Regions from separate parts of the Homo sapiens genome. Here region 1 is linked to region 2. Evidence: promoter capture Hi-C in 16 types of primary human blood cells and fetal thymus (Javierre and others, 2016). All regions are on one chromosome and are shown on one strand. The core of a region is centred on a gene start or on the middle of the fragment in contact, and the rest is flanking DNA. Distances in the headings are between cores, read along the strand shown.

Region 1 (4,361 bases), core at 1,791-4,290, 57 kb before region 2:
TTTAGAGTCTAACCCTAGTACATCAGAACGTAACTGGATTTGGAGAGAGAGTCTTTACAGAGTTAAAGAGTTAAAGTTAAAATGAGGTCATATGTGTGGCCCTAATCCAATGACTGGTGTCCTTATAAGAAGAGGAGATCAGGACAGCACACACAGAGGGGAGACTATGTGAAGACAGTAAGAAGACACCCATTTATAAGCCAAAGAAAAAGAACTCAGAAGAAACCAACCCTGCTGACACCTGGATCTCAGAATTCTAGCCTGCAAAACAGTGAGAAAATAAATTTATGTTGTTTAAGTTACCTAGAACGGGACGTCTTGTTATGGTAGCCCTAGAAAACTAATACATATTTCTAAATGTGTATCTGAAATTCAGAAGAAAAAAAAGATTAAAAAATGTAAAATATCTTTACTGCTGATTTCTTTCTTCAAACAGAAATTTATTTAAGGGTATTATCAATGCTCAAGAAGAGCCTAGTGGTCTAATCACAAGTAAACAGCTAAAAATAAGTATAATCTAAAATTCAGAATGTAGTACTATATCTATCTAAATTTCCAAATTTTCATAAGTTCTCATACTCTGTAATAATCTGCATAACTCAGCAAATCTGCATTTGCAAGTGATCAATGCACATTATAAAAACATACATGGTAAGAAAATTGATTCAAAGGGTAAGAAAGACCCAATTAGATTTTAATGTAACAGAGCACAAAACGCTCAATGATATGGCTTCAGATTCCACATTGCAACTAACCTTAAAGAAACTACCTCGTGTTGAGTTTTGGTGTAGTATCATAGAATATTCACCATTATCTGAAAAAGGCTATTAAAATATTCCTTTCTTTTCCAATTATACGTCACTGTGAGGCTGGCCTGTCTCCTAGTATGTCAAACAAAACATGATGTTGCAAAAGACTGAATGCGGAAACAGATATGAGAATCTAGCTATTTTCTTTTAAGTCAATCATTACTTTATAAAATTATAAAACAATGCTGTTCTTATTGTTTTTTGTTTTGAAATATATATTTTTCATAAAACCATACTACATATTGATGTAAACATGCAATAGGTTACTGTTATTTTTAATTGAACTAATGAGTTTTAAAACAAATTCTCAGTTTTAATTTCTAACATAGTAAATATTGGTAGCTGTAGCCCATATAAACAAAAACTCTTTTAAGTCCTTGTTACAGACTGAATTGTGTCCCCCCTCAAGCCCATATGTGGAAGCCCTAACTCCCAATGTGACTGTATTTGGAGACACAGCCTTTAAGGAGGTAACTGAGGTTAAATGAGGTCATAAGGATGGGACCCTAATACCATAGGACTCATGTTCTTATTAGAAGAAGAGGCACAAGAGACCTCTTGCTTTCTCTGAACATTCATAGAAAAAAGGCCATGTGAGGACACAATGAGAAGGTGGCCATCTACAGGCCAGGAAAAGAGGTCTCACCAGGGACCAACCCTGCCAGCACTTTGATGTTGGACTTTCAGAACTGTGAGAAAAACTGATGTCTGTTATTTAAGCCATCCACAGTAGTATTTTGTTGCAGCAGCACACGTAGACTAAAACAGGCCTCAGTAGTTTTTAAAAGTTTATAATGGGTCCTGAGACCAAAACTTTTGAAAACTACTAAATTAAACAGTAACCATTTGGTTGTATAAATTAAAATGTTTGTAAACAAACATACTTTATAGTTACAACTTGGAAAAGTAATTATAATTCTCATTAACTATTCAAAATGCAAAGAAAAAGGGAGAAGGCCATCTTTAAAATAACCTTACTGTTATTTGATAAATACAATTATATATCATTTGAGAATGTATTTTTAAAAAAGTGAAACAAACTATGAAAAAAAATTGATGCAGGCACTGAAGCACTTGCTTTGCGTTTTCAGGAAACTAGGCTTGTTGGGCTTGATGTGTTTGACTAGGGCACACTAACCCTTAGAGTATTTGTTAAGTCTATTAACTTTCTGAATACAAAGTCAGACATAAAACAAAAGAACAGGATTTGCTTCATGTGAGGAAAAAAGAACCAAACAAATTACAAGATGACACAAAGAAGTTAATCAATGGATTGATAAATACACTAAGTACAGTTTTAACCACACAAAACTTATCAATATAGGGAAATAATAAATGAACAGTAAGAAAACCTATTTCAATATATGCAAAAATAAATATTTTAGTTCTCCTAGTAACTGTGGTTGACAGCAAAAATGGTAACGGAGCTGTGGAAGTGGCCTAAGAATAAAAATTTTAGTAGTTATAAGTCTTTAAGTAATTATAAAGTTATAAAGTAATTACAAGTTATAAAAGCCTAGATGAGTATAAAAAATACATTAACCACAATGATGAATTTCTGAATTTCATGGACACAAGTATACTGTGTTGCTTTTAACAGCAAATAAACTGTGCGCTCAAATACAATAGTTATATGTAGAGTAGTACTATAAAAATCAAGCAAAAAGCTTAATTTCTAAGGCTCTAATCCTAGGGATAGCATTCAAAATCACATTTCAGTAAATTTCATGTCACATAACTTTGTATGGAAAGAAAATACTAATTCAACTTGAGCTAACTTTTCTCTAGGTTCAATGTTTGTATGAAAAAATAATTATGCAGTCCGTTTGGAAAAGTATAATCAATCCATGGGCATGCAAGTATCAGTTTTATCTTATGAGAATTTCTCCATGTTCCAGTTACTTCATTCCTTATTACATGCTGCAAAAAGCAGTAATAATTTTTATAGCCAAATATCACTTCGTAAGATACCAGGTGGCTTTCAATATTTACCATATAAGTCATGCATGAAATTTAAACATTACAAAAAATGACTTACCAGTTGACACTCCTGAAATATGCACATTTTCAGAATGTTCTGCAAGAGCACCATTTCCTAAAATTAAACATAATGAATAAACTAATATCCAAGATAAAATTACAAAATTTTTTCAGATCCTCCCTTTAAAAGAGAAACAACTACATAGAGTTCCTTTTAATACAGAGAAGCTAAAGTTTCTTATAATAATCTTCAAGACAATACTAGGAAGCTCAAAATCATAATAGTAATGGGGAAAACAAACATTTTGGAAATCTCAACAAGGTAGTGTTATATATAAAGGTCAAATAGATAGATCTGATCAACACCAGAAAGAATTTTCTATCAATTAATAATCAAAAGGGAAGTCAGTACTGCTACAAGAAAAAAGAGAACACAGCTTGTTAAAAATAGCATTCCCCTAAAAGCGTGTCCAAATCAGCCACAAGTCGGTGTAATATCTGTCAGGGCCACATATGTTGGTACTTAAAAAAAAAAAAAAAAAGTCTTGCATTGTCTTCTAAATCTTCAAAAAAATCTTTCAAATTTTTCTCACCAACAATTCTAACAATCTTAAGTATTGCGAATATTTACTCCCTCAAATTAATGTAAGCAATGTCTCTTCAGATATTTGTCTTAAAATTTTGTATTTTATACATCATTAGTTCTAAAGGTTTCTCTCTTTACCCATTAGTTGGATCTGGCATCACAACAGCTCAGAAACCGAACAGACAAAGAATTCTCCTCGGAGTCAGGTGGGGAAGGAAGCTAGTCAGAAAAAGCTTAGAAGGCAAAAGCAGAATTTTCTTTCATGGTTGAGAGTGGAGAAAATAGCAAATATTGTAATTAACAACTTTTTGTTTACAAGTATCACACTTCTATAATTGCTTGAATATTGTATTGCACCCCCCACCCCAATGCACTAAGCTGTAGGAGAACAGAATTTGTGTTTATTTGGCTCCCCACTGTAGGCACAGTTCCTGATACAGAGGAGGCGCACAAATAGCTGAAAGATGAATGAGGGATGTCCTGATGATTAAAATGAAATCATGCCCATTAAGCACTTGATATAGTGCCTGGCACATAGCATTGAACAGGTGTTGATTTTTGTAACTGTGTAAAGTATATTATTGTTACTAAAGAAAAAATAACAGTGATAAAACAATATTTTTGGTTCAACTACAGTTATACCCTTCAAAATGAAAACATACATTATATTTCCCTCAATTAAGAATGAAACAGTGGAAATGATGAGATAGGTGGGAAGGCCATATTAAGTATACAAATAAATGATTATATTCATTTTAAGTACTCTGCACTGATGCCAAAAAAGGCACAATTTCTTTTTCTCATTTATTGTTAAATGTCACACATACAGAATTGAAATGACCAGAAAGACTGTACCCATTTCTTTACCACACAAAAATTATAAAAACAGGCAGCAGAAACAAAACATGAAACTGATTCAATAAAACACCTAAGAAGGTTTGCCAAAGGTCAGTATAAACTGCCTAAATCCTTGCTACTCACGAGTA
Region 2 (3,931 bases), core at 478-2,977:
ACTAATCAGGTACGGGAGCAACACATCCTTAATTGTACCAAAAAGAATTTCTTGGCTGTCAGTAAATGCCCAATTACGTTCATTAATTCTTCATTTAGCGTCACTTGCCAGGTTTCAAAAGCCACCATCACATTCAATTCCGTAGATAAATGCCTTCAAAAGAGATAACACTTGCTGACAAATTGGCTGTTGACTAAACCTCACCACCACCACCATTATACTAGTCAAATCAATGTTTGTGGCAAATGAATTAGACTTTTTATAAGTAAAATTTACCAAAGTAATGATATCTTCTAATTCTTTTTCTGGAGAAATCAGAGCAACACTCCAAAAAGGAAAGGTTAAAACTGAGCTCTCTGAAATACCTATTCAGTGTGTTTAACTGATGAACTAAGAACGGTGAAGTCAGAAGTGTAACTTAATTATCTTAAGAGATAGATGTTCTTTGCAATTAATTCCATTCAGCTCTTGCTCAGACCCCAACGCAATATAAAGCTGTCCGCACAGTCTTCAGCCTTCTCTTAACCCGAAAGGAGTTATCTCTAACCCGATCCATCGACTGGAATAAAGTAACAGTGACCACAGCGGCGGACGAGGATGGATGAAATTACAATTGAACTAGGAGTCAGGACAGATGTGTACACCCTAACAGGAGAGACTGAGGTGGGGCTGGAAACTATTTTCTGGCCTTCTCCCGCGTGCTGCTCCCGGGGAACCAACAGGACCCTGCACGCCCGGATTCGGCAGAGCCCTTGCCCCCGAGGTGGAGTGGGGAGAAGTCAGCGGGAAGCCTTTTCAGGGAATCGAGTAGGACAAGGGCTGGCGCGGTGGGAATCTCGCCGGTGAGAGAACTTCCTAACCCCGGGTTGAGGGGGCGGGGGGAAGGACCGTCCCGGCAGCGGCGGGGGCGAGCTCCTCTGCTTTCTCACAGTCAAGCATCTTTGTGTGTGGATTGTGCCAGGCTACGGGTCCTGGAGCAACTGGCCGCGGGGGCCCTCGAACCCAGGTCGGGAAGTCCGCCCGCCACCCCCTCGCTCCGCCGGGGCCCTCCCGGCCGGGCCCCCCAGCCCCTCTCCACCACCCGAGGGTCTGGAGGTGGACGAGTGGAGAAAAGCATCTCCGTGTGGGGACACCCGTTCCGCCACATCCACCCCCTCACCGGTCTTTGTCCCGCCGGTAGCCAGGGTCTCCGCGGGAGTCTCCAGGGGAACCCCCGTCCTGGAGGCCTCGGGGCCCGGGTCGCCTCAGCTTTGTTCGGTCAGCGGGGCGCGGGGACGCGGACACTTACCGTACACCCCAGCGAGGAAAAGCAAGAGCAACGCAGACCTCCACCGCGGAGACTCTTTTGTGCTCCAGCGACAGGCCATAACCACAGCAGATGGAGAGAGAGAGGAGGAGACGGAGGAGGAGGGAGGAGAAGCTGGAGGTAGACGACGCCGACGCCGCCGCCGCCGCCGCCGCCGCCGCCGAGCCACCGGCTGCTCCCTGCGCTCTCCGCGGCTGCGGGAGGGGGAAGGGAGGGGCCGCCGCCGCCCGCGCGCGCTCCCTCCTCCCTCCTCCCTCCGGCTCGCCTGCTCCCACCCCGGGCGGTGCGAGAGCCCCACGCGGGGCGGCCCTCCTGGGGGCAAGGGCAAGGAGCTCGCGCGCCAGCGCGAGACGAGAGGGTGGCGGACGCCGGACTCCGGCCTCGCGCCGCTCGGGCTAGCCGGCGCCGCCACTCGCCAGACTGAGCGCGCGCCCATCCGTGCGATCGGCAATCCCCTGGCCCGCCTGCCTCGGTTCCCTCCCCGCGCTCCGCTGGACTTTCCAAGTTTCGGGCCGATTTCCACGCGACGGGAGCCCAAGGAGCAAGGCAGCGCCAATCGATGACAGAGCGTGCGAACGCCGGCTGCTGGATGCCCAGGGGCTGGAGCGCGGGGTGTGTGGAGGAGCACGGTCGCTGTCCGAGGGCTGGGCTCTGGCCCAGCGGGTGGGGGGAGGGGGGGTGGGATACCAGCTGGGAGGCTGAAGGTGGTTCCGTGTTGGGGGAGGCGTGGATGGTCTGAAGCTGACAACTTGGGAGTTCCTTCCTCTATCCGGTACCCCCAAGTCTCCACTTGCTGTCGGCGCGGAGCTTCGAGTGGGGGTGGGCTCAAGTTAGTGCGGCCAACCTGGCAGCTGGTCGGTCAAGGGGCAGTGTGGACTCCCACGCTCAAGGTGCCCGGAATGAGTCGGGCAAGGCTTGTGCAGAGCCCCTCCAGTCTGGCGTGGAAGCGCCAAGAGGTCATTTGACATCTCACGCTGGGTCGGGTGCAGCTGGGCCAGGATGTTCGGCAGGGCTGGAGCCGACTTTCAGGGTAGATATATTGAAAGGAGGATTCGCCCATCACGCTGCAGTTTCCCTAAAGCTCTTTTCTCACTCCCAGCAAATGGGAGTCCTCCTTTACTTAGATCCCCAGAACACTTTTCTAAGTACGTCTGTAGTGACGCTGGCACATCAGACCTTACCCCCTGTGTTTTTAAAGCGTTTGTCTACAACGTCTTATTTATATTAGATTTTATCGTTGCCCTTTGCAAGCACTCTCCATGCTATTCATTGAAGACCTACACTGCATCATGCTGTCCTATTGACATAGGTTGTCACTTTTTAATCCCAAACATCCTTGTGAGATAAATATTACCCATGTTTTATAGAAAAGAGAGAAATTAAATTACTCATGGCAAGTAAGTTGTTTGAAACAGTTTTTCTCATTCCAAAGTAAAGATTGTTGCCCCTATACCACAGCAAACTCTCTAGCACAATGCTTAGCGCCTAGTAATGTGTCGGAGTTGGTGCCTGCCAGGGGGTTCGTGGTCTCCCTGACTTCAAGAATGAAGCTGCAGACCTTCCCGGTGACTGTTAACAGCTCTTAAAGATGGCACGGACTCAAAGAGTGAGCGGTAGCAAGGTTTATTGCGAAGAGCAAAAGGACAGCTTCCACAGCATGGAAGAGAACCCCAGGTGCTGGCTGGTGGTGGCCAGCTTTTATTCCCTTGTGGTCCCCTCCCATGTTCCATTTCTGTCCTATCGGAGTGCCCCTCTTTCAATCCTCCCTGCGATTGGCTACTTTTGGAATCCTGCTGATTGGTGCGTTTTACAGAGTGCTGATTGGTGCATTTTACAGAGCGCTGATTGGTGCATTTTACAATCCTCTTGTAAGACAGGAAAGTTCCTCAAGTCCCCACTGGACCCAGGAAGTTCAGCTGGCCTCACCTCTCAGTAAGTAAATGTTAAAATTTAAAACATACTTTCTGGGGAATACATTTAGGCTTTTCCTCAGTCTCCTGCCGATTTGCCCCCTTTTAAGTTTTTTTTTTTAAAACCAGGAAATGCTATTCCAAAAGATAAGAGAAAAATGTATTAATAAGTATTACAAAAATCTAATAATTAACAAATCTTATATCATCTGGTAAAAAAAGCAACCAGCACTCCAAAAATGTTTTCCATTCTTGTTGGAAAGAAGCAACTTCAGTGTTTTTCACTAAACAAATTGCAGTTGTCTTTCCTAATTTTGGGATTCTAAACTCTACTTTCTTGTTTCTTAAGATTGCTTTCTCTAAATTGCGCTTCCATGAGAGCTGTGTTAAGAACAGGCCACAAGCAGAGTGAAGGAGTAGACTGGACTGCATCCTCCCCTGTCCACTTTTAGTACCATTCAAGGAATCCTGTCCCGAACACGAGACACACAGTGCCCTCATCAGTTCCTGTCACACCCCTCCCACCCCTACACTTGCTCATCCACCCAGATGTGTCTTCTCAGACTTGCCAGGTTATCAAACTTTTGGGTATCTGGACCCCCCATAACACTTACAATTTGGTGAGGACACCAAAGAACTTTTATTTATGTGGGTCATAGCTATTGATATTTAGCATTTAGAAATTAAAATAGAAAAAAAAGAATTTATTTTAAAT

What was found. Contacts are between HindIII fragments. The CHiCAGO score rates a contact against its expected background, and 5 or more counts as called.
Region 1: a fragment that was not itself captured here is called in contact with the fragment with the promoter of LRP12 in region 2 in 2 of 17 cell types (megakaryocytes and M2 macrophages); the score reaches 6.7 in megakaryocytes.

What each region holds. Positions count from the first base shown.
Region 1 is chr8:104,529,060-104,533,420 of GRCh38, forward strand. LRP12 (LDL receptor related protein 12) reads right to left here. Exons shown (of 7, transcript NM_013437.5): 2 at 2,848-2,904. Among named protein-coding and RNA genes, the nearest start is that of MIR548A3, 47 kb to the left of the region's middle. The HindIII fragment of the contact is 1,132 bases long and covers 2,475-3,606 here.
Region 2 is chr8:104,587,531-104,591,461 of GRCh38, forward strand. LRP12 (LDL receptor related protein 12) reads right to left here and starts at 1,728. Exons shown (of 7, transcript NM_013437.5): 1 at 1,289-1,728. The coding sequence starts at 1,367. RefSeq lists silencers at 887-996, 1,427-1,766. The HindIII fragment of the contact is 14,799 bases long and covers 1-3,931 here.